3 separate regions of the Homo sapiens genome follow, and regions 1 and 3 are each linked to region 2. Evidence: promoter capture Hi-C in human tissues and cell types (Jung and others, 2019). All regions are on one chromosome and are shown on one strand. The core of a region is centred on a gene start or on the middle of the fragment in contact, and the rest is flanking DNA. Distances in the headings are between cores, read along the strand shown. Region 1 overlaps LOC105377582 (a long non-coding RNA gene). Region 2 holds the start of SLC25A4 (solute carrier family 25 member 4). Region 3 has its middle 43 kb from the start of TLR3.

Region 1 (4,501 bases), core at 100-2,599, 860 kb after region 2:
GCCACGGTGTTGGTGGGTACTGCTTTTCCCCTGAAGCGCTCCACTCCAGTCTGTCAAAGGGCAGCAAGCCTCCAGTAGTTACAGAAATGGTAACATTGCCAAGATCTGCTTCATCCTTTGGCTGTTGAACGGGTGGCTTATGGCCCCTGAGCTCACGACAAGGAAAGAGAGAAAGAAAAGTGAAAAAGAGGGCCCCCACCACCTACCTACCTGCTGCTGTTCCAGCTCATCAAAAACAAAAGTCTAAAACAGTGGCTGGAAAGTACCTTGCATGATCCCTTCACAGAAACAATAGAGAGGAGCAGCTGCACAGGGACCACGGGACACCAGGCAGACATTCTCCCATTGCTTCTCCTGCCTTTAGCATCCTTTTATCTTGCTTCTCCCATAATCCAAGCATCAGATCCCATTTCCCTCTGAATTCTCCTACTTCTCCCAGCACTTTATAAAACCGAGTCCTGTCCCCAGAGCCCCAGGTCAGTGCTCCCGGCACACCCAGCAGGAAACAGCAGGGTGGGGGCCAGGCAGTGGGTGGAAGGGGCACAGGAGTGGGAGAAGGCAGGCCTGGGGCTGAATCTCGGTGCAAATGCGTGAACTGCAACAATTTATTTATTCCGAGTCTCAGTTTCCTTATTTGTAAAATAAGAATATTATCATCTACTTAATGGGCTGTGGGAGTTAAATATGCTCAGGAGTGTGTAACTGATTCTCTGTGAAGAAACCTGTCCTTGTGTGAAGAAGCCAACCATGCTTTTGTGAACAAATGTGCACCTGAAAGAGCCAATCCTTCAAGATAGATCCTGAGCTGCTAACTGGGCCTACGTTTATAACAGAGCCAAGCGGCCCTTTGCTGGCTAGAGGTCACAGATGTACTCTGAGTTCTGGGGAAACCTACACCTATGTTTAACTGTGGACTTTCAGAGCTTGCCTGAACCAACCAATCAGAGCTCCCCCACCTTGGCCAATCAGGGCCTAGCTGTGTCAACCAATCAAAACTCAGCTGCATTGATCAATCAGAACTAAGCAAGTTTGAATCATTTATTTGCATAAACAGACCTGATTTAGAACCTACAAAAGCCAAACCCTCTCTTTGTTCTCTGAAATGCACACCTTCCTTATACAGGAAGACAGTGTCTCCCCAGTTTGCAAACTGTTCACTGTAAGAAAGTGTCTTTCCTCCAAATTCCTTTTCAGAAAACTTTTGTTCAAACTTCAAACTATGTAGCTGCCCACAAGTGCCACAGCTGAGCTCTGGGGACATAGCTATGGCCTTTATTGCTGATTTTTTTTTTCCAGGGCACTGCCCGCACAATTTCAAAAACAGAATTTAATCCATGGGAACAGTTTTTATATCTAATTAAATGTGTTAGAGTTAATTGATGCGAGAAACAACAAATATGTTCAACTGCAAAGAGCTCGGAACCACGAGTTCAAAAGCCAGCTAAAAGCCCTACCCAATCTTATGACCTTGAGCAAGTCATCCAACTTCCTGAATGTTAGTTTCTTTATCTGCAAACACAGGGTCAGAACCAGAGAGTCTCTGAGCACCCCTCAGCTATACATGCCTTGATTTCTAATAACATCTAAGAATGCAGCTGGCTGTTTTTCCTTTTCTAATATTCTCTGGTCATTACTTGGATCACTGACTTTTGAGTCCTTTACTGAATATGAGACTGTAATTCCTGGTCCTCAGTTCCCCAGGTCCCCTAGTCCCTTCCATAGACACAACCCTCCAACTTCCCTTTTCAGTTCATACCTATAAGGAGGGTACGCTAATGAGAGCTGGGCAGACTCAGCTGAAAGATGAGCCCAGAGGCTCCCCATTACTTCAATCCCCTTGCTCTTTTTCTTCTCCTGAAAAGAAGCCATTCATACGCTCCCTGCCTTATACTACAATCATGCCATTTGAGAACGGTTCCAAACAGAGGCTCCTTGGCTCTTCTGACAAATCCATTCAAGACACTCTTTTAAACAGTAACCAGATTCTTGATTCATTAAAGACCCATATAGAAATGTTCCCACTAGTGTCTCCCTGTCACCGTGCCCCTGTCTGTCTTAGAAAGGGCCTCATGTGGCACTGTCTCCAACAGAGCATGCACTGGCTGGATAACTCCAACCCCATCTCCAAAGCTAAGAGGAGCTGAGATCATCAGCCAAGCAGGGTTCCTGAAGCTTCCTGTATGTAACATGAGAGTTGCAACAACAAAAATAATTTTAACAACTGCACTGAAGTGTTTTGCGGGCAGTTAGAAAAAAATGAATAATATAAATCTTGCCATTCAAAGTGAGGTCTAAGAACCCGTGGCATTGGCCATCATCCGAGAGTCTTTGAGGAACACAGAATCTTAGGCCTACTCCAGAATTACTGAATCAAAATCTGCATTTTATCAGAATCTGTAGGAGATTCCAGTGTACATTAACATTTGAAAAGCAGTGATCTAAAATACTGTAAAAGAAACTAGAGGAACTCTGTGTTGAAAAGTCAAGAACTTATGTTGCCAGCTCTCAAGTAAAACAATCTCCAAGAAAGGTATCGTTACATGTGAATTTAGATTCATTTTTTAAAAAGGTTTATTTTATTTTATTTTTCTAGAGACAAGGTCTCACTATGTTGCCCAGGCTGGAGTGTGGTGGCTATTTACAGGTTGGATCTCACTACTTATCAGCACAGAATTCTTATCTGTTCTATTTTAACCTGGGCAGGTTCAACCCTCCTTAGGCTACCTGGTGGTTCCCCACTCCCAGAAGGTCACCATATTGATGCTGAACTTAGTGCAGACACCCAGTGGACATAGCACACTACAGCCCAGAACTCTTGGGCTCAAGCCAACCTTCCTCCCTTAGCCTCCTGAGTAGTTGGGAATACAGGCATGTGCCACCACACCTGGCATACATTCATATACTGTACGATAGAGACAAGTATACAAAGATCCTCTTCTCTTCCTCTTGCCTTTTAATGGTAATGGGAAGAGCTGTAGATATAAAAAAGCTTAGTGTAGGCAAAGAGACGCTAGAAGGTTTCCTTAGGTGGAAAAGAAAAAAATCATAAAATTGGAAAGGAAGAAAGGAAAAAGATGAAAAATGTTGGCAGAGCAGCTTCTGGGATGAATGAAATTTAATAAACCTTTGCTGAGATGGGTTATGACTTTGCTCTCTGCTTTTGGAGTTGATTTTATTTTATTTTTTTTAGATATAATGGCACATGGAAGTGTGTCATAAAGTGGGAGAAAAAGTGCAAGAATTCCTCAAGACCCATATGTAAGGTTTTCTATAATTCACTTTGTATGCTACAATTGTTTGCCCTGCATAGTGCCAGGAAGATATAAAAATGTGAAATGAACAAATATTGTTTAAGAGTTTAAAGATACTTTGGATGTCATGACTCCAATAATATTACCTTACAGATCAACACCTGTGTTAGTCCATTCTCATGCTGCTATGAAGAAATACCTGAGACTGGGTAATTTATAAATAAAAGAGGTTTAATTGACTCACAGTTTCACATGGGTGGGGAGGCCTCAGGAAACTTATAACCATGGTGGAAGGCACTCTTCACAGGCAGCAAGAGAGAGAATGAGTTTGGAGTGAAGGGGGAAGCCTCTTATAAAACCATCAGATCTTGTGAGAACTCACTCATGGTGAGAACAGCATGGGGGAAAATGCCCTCATGATTCAATTATCTCCACCTGGTGCTGCCCTTGACACATGGGTATTATTACAATTCAAGGTGATATTTGGGTGGGGACACAGAGCCAAACCACATCATTCTGCCCCTGGCCCCTCCCAAATCTCATGCCCTCACATTTCACAACACAATCATGCTCTCCCAACAGTCCCTCAAAGTCTTAACTCATTCCAGTATTAACTCAAAAGTCCAAGTCCAAAGTCTCACCTGAGAAAAGGCAACTCTCTTCTGCCTATGAGCCTGTAAAATCAGAGGCAGGTTAGTTACTTCTAAGATACAATGGGAGTACAGGCATTGGGTAAATGGTCCCCTTCCAAATTGGCCCAAACAAAGGGGCTACAGGCTCCATGCAAGTCCAAAATCCTGCAAGGCAGTTATTCAATCTTAATGCTCTGAAATGATCTCCTTTGACTCCATGTCTCACATCTAGGGCACACTGATGCAAGAGGTGGGCTCCCATGGTCTTGGCAGCTTTGACCCTGTGGCTTTGCAGGGTACAGCCCCCTCCTGCCTGCTTTCACAGGCTGGCATTGAGAGTCTGCAGCTTTTCCAGGAGCACAGTGCAAGCTGTCGGTGGATCTACCATTCTGGGGCCTGAAGTATGGTGGCCCAGTAGGCAGCGTCCCACTGGGGACTGTGTGTGGGGGCTCCAACCCCACATTTTCCTTTCACACTGCCCCAGCAGAGGTTCTCCATGAGGGCTCCACCCCTGAAGCAGACTTCTCCCTGGACATCCAGGCATTTCCATACATCCTCGGAAATCTAGTTGGAGGTTCCCAAACCTCAATTCTTGACTTCTATGCACCTGCAGGTCCA
Region 2 (4,909 bases), core at 489-2,988:
CAGGTTACCAGCAAAGTAGCGCCAGAACTGCTTATGCCGATCCACACCCCCTAAGAAGAGCTGCTTGTACTTGTCCTTGAAGGCGAAGTTGAGAGCTTGGGTGGGGAAGTAACGGATCACGTTGGCCAGGTTACCCCTCCAGAAGGAGAGGAAGCCCTGCTCCTTAGGGATTCTCACCACACAATCAATGATCCCTTTGTACTGCTTCTCAGCACTGATCTGTTTGCTGGCATGCTGGACCTGGTGGAGGGGAGGGTGGGTGACAGAGGACAGGCAGGGTAGAGAGAAGGGAAGAGGACAGGAGAAAAAAAAAGGTTTGCACTTCCTAGATTTTTTTTTTGAAGAAAAAAAGGATGAGGAAATCAAATGGATACTGAGGACGTGTAAATGGATACTGTTATCCATGTTAGTTACTGGATAACAAGCCAAAATAATCCAATGTTGCTTCAATTATTAGGGTATTTGAGGGAAAAGGTATTGCCCCAAATAAACTGAAAAGGTGATTGAATTATATAAAGCTATAGCCATTTATTTATTTCACTTTCCCTAGGTTTGAGAACTGTATGAGGGGCTTACTGGGGGACAGAAATGAGTAACACTCCCTGCTTCAAAGGGCTTTGGATTTAATAGACATGATGGCCAAAAAATGACAATTTCTCAGTGTCACTCTGATCACCCTGGAGATGAGGATCTCTACTAGATGCTCTAATAGAGGAAGGAGAATAAATCCACTAAACATTAGGCCTCCAAAGTTTTCAAGCAGATAATCCAAGTAATCAATTATTAAGGGTTTGCTGCCGTTGTGAGCAATTTGTGGGGGTTTTGTTGTTAGTAATTCTGACTCCCAAATTGGGCTCTTCCTCATTGAGGGGCCCTGACCTTTTGGGCAGGTGGAGGAAAACACGAGAGGATGATAAACCATTCAGCGACCAGGTAGGGGAGGAAAAGATTTGGAGACAGGATGATCTGAGTTTATTCCGAAAATTGTTTCTTAATATTTCAAAACCTCAGCTTCATCTGTAAAATGGAGAAGAATAACTCTCTCACAGAGGTTACATAAAGATGAAGGCGTCAGCCTACATACAGCATTGTGCATGAGATACGATAAGGGAATTCTTGGGTGATGATTATTTTGATGTTTTTATTGTAAAGGTGCGTGCGCATAAGACGGTGCCAAAAATACTGGCAATCACTAGGTGCCTCCGGGCCTGAGTGCACGCCCGTGCTGTCACGGGCGCAGGATCTGGCACACGTAAACCGGCTCCGGGTGGGTTTCCATATATAGACACCCGAACGCCGGGCGCCACCCGACACCAGGAATCTGCGACTGACGCTGGACCTGTCTCTACGCAGAGGGCACCTTCTTCCCCCGCGGGCGGGCGGGCGGGCGGGCGGGCGCCCGGGCCTGTGGCCTGGCGCAGATTTTCCGCGGCGCCCCGCGCCCTGCAGCTCGCGCCGCATCGCGCGCCCCGCCCGGCCCGCCGCGCCCGCGCCCGCCTCTTGCACCGCGCGGTCCTCACCTGCAGCAGCAGTTTGACCCTCTCGATGGGGGCGACCGCGGTCTTGGAGACGGCAGCGGCGACGCCCCCGGCCAGGAAGTCCTTTAGGAAGCTCCAAGCGTGATCACCCATGGTGACAGCTCGACGCTCTCAGCCCGCAGGCAGCCCGTTCGTGCTCTCGCCCACGCCCGGCCTGGCACCGCCGCGCAGTCCCCGACCCTGCGCGACGCTAGGGGGCCGCCGCCTGGCCCGCAGCTCCCCCTTATATCCCCGCCGGGCTCTCGCGAGAGGAGGCGGGTCGCGGCCGGCGCTCGCGCCGCGCATTGGCTGGGCAGGTGCGGGGCGCCCCCTCCTCCCAGCTGCAGAGGGCATCGGGGGCGAAGGCGCTTCCGGGAGCGAGGCTGGGCCGGGGGCTGTCCCTGCAACTTGGGACGTTTAAAGGGCACATTCATGTTATCTGTCCCGCCGAGCCCAGGGAACACCGTGTCACCGCGGCATGTGGGCCGCGTATTTATAGCACAGGCAGCCTTAGGCCGGGGCGAAGCCGGGGCAGACACCGGGCCGCTGCCGCCGGTGGAGAGTTCTTGACCCTCCGGCCTGCACGGGCCGCGCTCAGGCCCAGGGATTTCGAGCTGTTTCCTCCTTCTTGCATCTAAAGGCGCCCCCCACCAGAGCTCACTGCCTGGATATGGGCCTCTTTAGAGCCGTGCGCTCCCGAGAATAAATGGCAGTCCTCTCAAATAGATACTAAGGTCACCTGATGCTGTGATTGCCTCATAGAATCTGACAACCTGCTGCCTCTCATTTCTTTTCATTCAATCGTTCGTTCAGTCATTCATTCTGCTATTACATATTGATGTGTCTGGCACTCAGTGCCCACAGGAAAGACCTGGTGCAGGGGGCCACTAGGTGAATTCATACTTGTTTCTGCAAAACTCTGTGACTCTAAAACACAGGACACTTCTTTTGTAAGCCCCTAAAGGGTTCAATGTACCACTCTGCTCTCAGCGGAATTTCAGCACATATTAGGGCAGAATGTTCTGTCTGTCAGCCGGTGCCTTCTTGAGGGTCAGTGCTGTCAGCCTTCCGGAGATCCAGTCCTTGGCTGTATTTGCCTCTTTTTAATGACAGCTGGGGTTGAGGAAATGCTATTTAATCCCAGGAAATTAATTGCAATTAATTTCTTAAAATATATAAATCTGAGCTTTAATTTTCCTTAGCTTGTTTTTTAGGCAGTTCATGTAACCATACAGGTTTTCAAATACAACTGTTCCTTCCCCTAGAATGACTGCAATTCGTTTTTAACTTTAAACTCTTCACTCAATTATCTTCCCATGTTTGCTAATTTTCATTTGTACCTTTAACAAAGTTTATTCATTGTTTTATAAACTTTTTTTTTTTAATATTTGCTGACATCATGTTAGAGGTTTACGGAGCTGCAGCTGCGTGTCACCCTGGGCGTGGAGACTTTGGTATAGCAGAAGTCACTAAGGTTCCAGGGCCACAGAGGGCATGCGTTTATCTAAGAGTGGGGCAGGCTAGAGTTCCGAAATCCAGGTAAGCAGAATGAAAGCTAGAAACTAGTGGAAAGCTGCCAGAGGTCAGAGCAGACAGAAGTCAAGAACTCGGAAGAGACAAACAGATAAACCATGTATGTGTTCATTCAACAGACTCTTGCTGAGCATGTACTGTGTACCAAGAACTAGGTGTAGCCCTGTGGATTGAATATAAGTAGACGTGGCCCATCTCCAAAGACCTTACAGTTCAGTGTATTCGTCACTTGCTCCACTTTATCAAAACTTCACTTACTGATTTCCATGGATCAGCATAATCCACACAGTAAACCTTTTTAATTATAATAGTGTACTGTATCCCATCCTGTAATATAGAGCACTTGCTTTTATACCTCCATTTTCCTTTTAATTGTGCATTAGAATTGTGTCTTATTTTTATGATGAAAAATAGGCCGGGTGTGGTGGCTCATACCTTTGGGAGGCTGAGGCTGGCAGATTACCTAGGTCAGGAGTTCGAGACCAGCCTGGCCAACATGGCAAAACCCCATCTCTACTAAAAATACAAAAATTAGCCTGGCGTGATGGCTCATGCCTGGAATCCCAGCAGCTCAGGAGGCTCAGGCACGAGACCCCCGAGAGGCAGAGGTCATGGTGATCTGAGATCACTCCACTGCACTTCAGCCTGGGCAACAGAGAAAGACTCTGACTCAAAAAAAAAAAAAGAAAGAAAGAAAGAAAGAAAGGAAGGAAGGAAGGAAGGAAGGAAGGAAGGAAGGAAAACTAATACTGCTACATTGAAACTTACACAAACTTCATTTTCTCCTCTAAGTTTTTTCTTCTCATATATTTCCCAAATGGAATGGATAGATTTAAGATTTTTAAAGTTTTGTAGCTTTTGCTACATATTGACAAATTGCTCTTCAGAAATACCAACCCACCAGTTATATAGATGGGCTTTCTCTCACACTCTTCTCCAACACTGGCTTTAAAAAAATAGAGAGTTGGTTATTTGTGAGTTATTTATGAGTTTTAGTTTGTATTTACTTAATTACTATGAAGCTGTATATATTCCATATGATTCAATTTAATTTGACAGTTTGACAAGGTTTCCCTTTTGTATAAACTTTTAATCTTCCTTGACTACTGCTGGAGTGAAAGCAGAGTATTTATATTAACAACAATTCTTTATATATTTGGGACAATAAATATGTGTTGAATGTTTTTCATTTTGTTGTTTTCCTTTTGATATTTATTATATCATTCTATTAGTGTTATGAACAGATCTATGGTATGATGATGATCTATTTCATGTTCTGATGTAAATGTATCTCTTTTATAGATATAGCAGTCTATTTACTCTAGTACATATATCAGTTTTTTTCTTCTACTTTGAGTAGCTATTTTTAAAATGTCTAACACTACGTTTTATATTGTATGGAGGTATGGGTCTAATTTCACTTTTCTCCATATCATGCTTGGGTATCCCAATACTAATTCTTAAGTAGATATTTTCTTCTCTCCATTATTTGTCTTATATTACTAAGTCTAGTTTGTCATATATTAAGTTCTCATAATAGCTTTAATTTATGAAATATCCACACTATGACATATTTATTTGATCTTCATTTTTTAAAAATAGGCTGATATATGATTCTACAATCACTTAAAAAATAAAGTTTTATCTGCTTATGTGTCTGGATTTATTTTTACTATCAAGTTGTTCAATTGTTTAAACATCACCAGAAGATTTTAAATAGACATTTAAACTAAATTAAATATTAATTAATATATGAATTCAGGAAGTAGTATCATCTTTGTTACACTTAATTTTACCAATCAGAGTTTTGGATATTTTCTAAATGGGAGATATATTTCTCCTTGGCTACTCTCCAGTTA
Region 3 (4,881 bases), core at 2,321-4,820, 880 kb before region 2:
GCCATTCTCCTGCCTCAGCCTCCTGAGTAGCTGGGACTACAGGCACCGCCACCATGTCCGGCTAGTTTTTTGTATTTTTAGTAGAGACGGGGTTTCACTGTGTTAGCCAGGATGGTCTTGATATCCTGACCTTGTAATCCGCCTGCCTCAGCCTCCCAAAGTGCTGGGATTACAGGCGTAAGCCACCACGCCCAGCCAGGTGTCAGACTCTTAGTTAATCTCTCCTAGATCGGGAAAGGCCAGGCTGCATGAATGAAGATTCTCTACAAACTTCCTCCATGAAAGATGGCTTTGCAGGGCCATTTCAAAATATGTCAATGAAATATATTTTAAGGTAAAATACACTTGATTTCCTTCAGAGAGTGCTATCTGTCATATGATGCTATACCAGAGTCAGGTTGGAATTTGTTATCTTATTGCCATGGAGTCTGTTTTGTCAGTGTTATGATCTCTGTTTTCATGTTAATGCTGGTCAGTTGTACCTAAACTCCAAAGGGAGGGGGCATAGCGAGGTGTGTCTGACATCCCTTCCCATTGTGGTGGGGAATTCAGTTTTTCAGGCCTCTCTGGTGTATTAGTTTGTTTTGCATTGCTATAAAGGGATACCTGAGACCAGATAATTTATAAAGACAAGTTTACTTTGGCTTACAGTTCTGTAGGCTGTATAGGAAGTGTCTTGCCAGCATCTGCTTCTTGTGAGGCCTTAGGAAGCTTCCAATCATGGTGGAAGACTCAGGGGGAGCCAGCGTATCACAAGGCAAGAGAGGGAGCAAGAGAAAGAGCAGTGAGGTGAAACTGCTTTTGGAAAGATGATGACAGTGAGAGAAATCTGACATAGGTGACTCCATCTTGCTTCCGACCTCCAAGCTGTCCTTGGTCATTCCTGGATGTAAGCCAAGCTAACCTTGGGAAAAATTTAGTTTATAGTTTAACCTTAAGACAAGGATGATAACAGCCCTTCCCAGAACTGAACCACCTTTCTAGAACCAATGAAAGACCTCATGGTTAGGATTATGGGAGGGGCCTGAACCTGCTAAGAGACAGGTGTTGTTCCTACAATCCCTAACTACTCAGGGGTCACGTGGCCAGGGGTCACAAGATTTGAGACCTTCTCAATTGCTCCTATGGATGACATCACTACTGTAGAACCTAAGATGGGTTTTCTGAGATGTGTTTCAGACACACCCCACCTGGACTCCTGACTCCTGACTCACCTGATCCTGTGGCTCCACCCAGCAGCTGACTCAGAGCACGGGGATTGTTTCTGCACCCTGTGATTTCATCCCCAACCAATCGGCAGCGCCCATTCCCTAACTCCCCGCCCACCAAATTGTCATAAAGACTCTAACCTCTGAGCCTTCAGAGAGACCAATTTGAATGATAGCTCCAGTTCTCCCATGTGGTCCGGCTTCGTGTCAGTTAAACTCTTTCTGTACTGCAATGCTGTGGTCTCAGTGGATTGATTTTGTCTGTGCAGCCAGCAAGAAGAAACTGTCTGGCAATCACAGAGGTGCCGGGTTATTTTAGACAACCAGCTCTCCCATGAACTGATACAGCAAGAACTCACTCATTACCATGAGGATGGCACCAAGCCATTCATGAGGGATACATCCCATGACCCAAACACCTCTCACCAGGCCCCACCTGCAACATTGGGGATTACATCAGCATGAGATTTGGAGGGGACACACATCCAAACCATATCATTTGAGGTCTCCTTGGCTCAGAAGGGATCCATTCAGTCGGTTGAGGGCTTAGAGTTTTAGTTTTTGTTTACACGAGGCATGAGCGGAACTTATAAATGAATGGGGCAGAGGAGGACATTAAATAAGTAAAAATAAACCACCATTATGTGTATTTTGTTTTGTTGTAACTGCTGTGGCACTGTAAAGGAAATGAACAGGGCCTCTGACGTAATGGTATTTAGTGGGATGAGAGGTGCAGTAGAAATTATGGACTGGCTTTTCAGCTCCTGTTCCAACCCATTTATGGAATCACTTTCTGAACTACAGCTAGAATGCCTGTTTGAACTGCAGAGGCAGAGAAGAAAGAGAAGAAAGAAAGGACAAGAGAGATGAAAGGGAAGGAAGGAAGGGAGGGAGGGAGGGAAGGAAAGAAAGATGGATGAAAATTACACTTCCCAGCCTCTTGTAGCTAAGGTCTGACTGCCCCCCATCCCCTGCTTTGTGAGTCTTAGGTGAAGAAAATGAACAGCATAGCTCTCTGCAGTGGCTGTATCATAGCCAATGAGGTTTATCCAAGGCATGATTATTGCTAATTGAAAATGAGCAGCGCAAGGCAGTGGACCTTGTGAGGAGTTGAGATATTTTCACACACCTGGTGACAGAAGCACTAGATTCTTCTAGACACCTCCGCCAAAGCACTTTGCCTGTTCTCTGGGCTTGTAGGGGCTGAGAGGAAGGTGGTGATAGTGAGCTTTCCACAAAGTGGTGTCACTTTGCCCAGCAGCTATTCCTCCTGCTTGCAAAGCTTCCCAGCTCCCTTCCCCATGGTAACCGCCTTCGCTTTGCATCCATCACAGGATCTTGCACCTGAGTATTTTCCAGGTCTTCCCCCAAGGACAAACAGCGCTTTTGCTTCTTCCCCTCCCCTGAAGCAGTATCTGTGTCAGGGACAGTAGCTGGATTGTCCTTCCCTGTCCAGATCTTCCTCAGGAGCACACAGTGGAGATGGTGGAAAGAGCTAACACTAGGTGAATGCAGGTTCTCCTTGTGTCTCAGGCCCACCGGGGCTTTCTCAACCATCTAGCACACAAGCTCACACTCAGACTTTAAGAATTTGCTACATTCTGGCTGGGTTTTTTGTTTTGTTTTTGTTTGTTTTGTTTCGTTTTGCTTTTTTTGTTTTTGAGACGGACTCTCACTCTGTCGCCCCCCGGACTGAAGTGCAGCGGCGTGATCTCGGCTCATGCAACCTCCGCCTCCCGGGTTCAAGCGATTCTCCTGCCTCAGCCTCCCGAGTAGCTGGGATTACAGGCGCCTGTCACTATGCCTAGCTAATTTTTGTATTTTTAGTAGAGATGGGGTTTCACCATGTTGGCCAGGCTGGTCTCGAACTCCTGACCTTGTGATTCGCCTGCCTCGGCCTCCCAAAGTGCTGGGATTACAGGCGTTAGCCACCGCACCCGGCCCATCCTGGCTGTTTTCTTCCAACCTGCTTTTACGGCTGCTCCATCCACCCTCCTCTCACACTCTGCCAAGGGTGAAACCATCTGTGCGGCCCGATTCTCCCCGAGGGACCTGTCACTCCTCAGAACTGACTTCACTTGCTTGCCTTGCAACCTCAGCTTTCTGAAGTGCTCAAGAAAAGTTGGCACTGTGAAGATCACATGGCTTTTCCTCCTTGCTAAGGTGGGAGTGACATCTTTGTAAAGCCATCTACATATGAAGTGAAAACAGGATTCCCTGTTTCTGTTTCAAGATCCCACATGGGTGGTCTGAAGTTTAGTTCCCTCCCAGCAAGGGATCAACAGCATCCATGCTGCCAAAAGCTTCAGAAATGAACTCTGTGTTAACTCCGCGCATCTTTGAAGGGCCTACTATTTGCACATCACTCTACGAAGAGCTGAGATACTGAGATGAATGAGGCACAATCCTTGTCTTACCCTCGCTCACAATCCTGGGGGAGGCAAGGCACAGAAACGAGCGTCATAGAGTCATGAGTGCCGCCCCGAGAGTGGGAGAAACACGGTGGGAACGTGCATCTGAATAAGTAGCAGGCAGGGGCATGAGGAGGCAGAGTTATTTGAGTTGCTTCTTGAATTTTGTGTAAGTTTTCTATACTGAGACAGTAAAGAGGCATTCACAGAAAAGTGTTCCTTCTATTTCTCATTCTCTGATACACAGTTCCATTTCCTGGAAGAGTTTGCCTGGATCAGAACTCTCTAGATCCCATAGGCTGACCTGGTCTTAGCCACAGTGAACTCTGTGTCTGCGTCCTGCAGGTGAACCCAGCATTTCGCAAGGTCAGCGGGTTCTGCGGTGGCAGTATTAATAATAGAAACTTCGCTGCATTTGAATAAAATCAGTATTTTTTTCTTTAAAAAGCTTGATGCCAATATCTAATCTGCTTTCTTTCATATTTGTCCTCTCAATATTTATTTTTATTTTATTTTTTTTTTTTATTTTTTGTTTGTTTTGTTTTTTGGAGACAGGGTCTCACTCGGCCCTAGGCTGCAGCTGGAGTGCAGTGGCGTGATCTCGGCTCACTGCGACCTCTGCCTCCTGGGTTCAAGCAATTCTCCTGCCTCAGCCTCCCGAGTCGCTGAGATTACAGGTGCCTGCCACCATGATTAATTTTTGTATTTTTACTAGAGATAGGGTTTCACCATGTTGGCCAGGCTGCTCTCAAACTCCTGACCTCAAGTGATCTACCTGCGTCGGCCTCCCAAAGTGCTGGGATTACAGGCATGAGCCACCACGCCCCACCTGTCCTCTCAATATTTGTATTAACCTCTATATTTGTTGTCCCTGGAGGGGTGGATGTCTGGATATTAGTTTATTTGTTGGAACCACTGGGGTGTATTTCAGCACTGGTCTGGAAAGAATGGAGAGGCTTCACCGCTGCCAAAGCTCTCCTGGTTCGGCCTCACCTGGACGGTCGACTACATCGGTGCCGAGACAGGAACGGTGCAGCCCAAACAAGGACTCACTACAGTCAGACGCCCACGGGAACAGGGCTCATCAGCCAAAATCTAGTCGTTTTGTGAAAGGTGAGCCTGCGGCACGTTGAATGTAGAGAAGAGTTTTAGCAGAAGGTGTCAAGTCCCAGGCGTTGGAGTCTGGGGATCAGTCTGTGAACAAACCCAGGCTCAGAATCTGGTGAGAGGGGCAGAACAGGAGCAGGAGCCAGGACGGGAGC

The links. The method cuts DNA at HindIII sites, captures the fragments that hold promoters and counts their contacts. A contact is called where the count stands out against the background at its distance.
Region 1: a contact is called between a fragment that was not itself captured here and the fragment with the promoter of SLC25A4 in region 2, in 2 of the 25 tissues and cell types used here (IMR-90 fibroblasts and lymphoblastoid cells).
Region 3: a contact is called between a fragment that was not itself captured here and the fragment with the promoter of SLC25A4 in region 2, in 1 of the 25 tissues and cell types used here (dorsolateral prefrontal cortex).

Annotation. Positions count from the first base shown.
Region 1 is chr4:184,277,324-184,281,824 of GRCh38, reverse strand. LOC105377582 (a long non-coding RNA gene) reads left to right here. Exons shown (of 6, transcript XR_939552.3): 2 at 3,191-3,460; 3 at 4,497-4,501. It also overlaps the pseudogene RN7SL28P. Among named protein-coding and RNA genes, the nearest start is that of MYL12BP2, 35 kb to the left of the region's middle. RefSeq lists enhancers at 1-99, 120-189, 230-359. The HindIII fragment of the contact is 5,968 bases long and covers 1-4,333 here.
Region 2 is chr4:185,140,095-185,145,003 of GRCh38, reverse strand. SLC25A4 (solute carrier family 25 member 4) reads right to left here and starts at 1,738. Exons shown (of 4, transcript NM_001151.4): 1 at 1,521-1,738; 2 at 1-240. The coding sequence starts at 1,631. RefSeq lists a silencer at 1,667-1,966. The HindIII fragment of the contact is 7,904 bases long and covers 1-4,909 here.
Region 3 is chr4:186,023,923-186,028,803 of GRCh38, reverse strand. It overlaps the pseudogene RNU4-64P. Among named protein-coding and RNA genes, the nearest start is that of TLR3, 43 kb to the left of the region's middle. RefSeq lists an enhancer at 495-1,694. The HindIII fragment of the contact is 3,937 bases long and covers 1,602-4,881 here.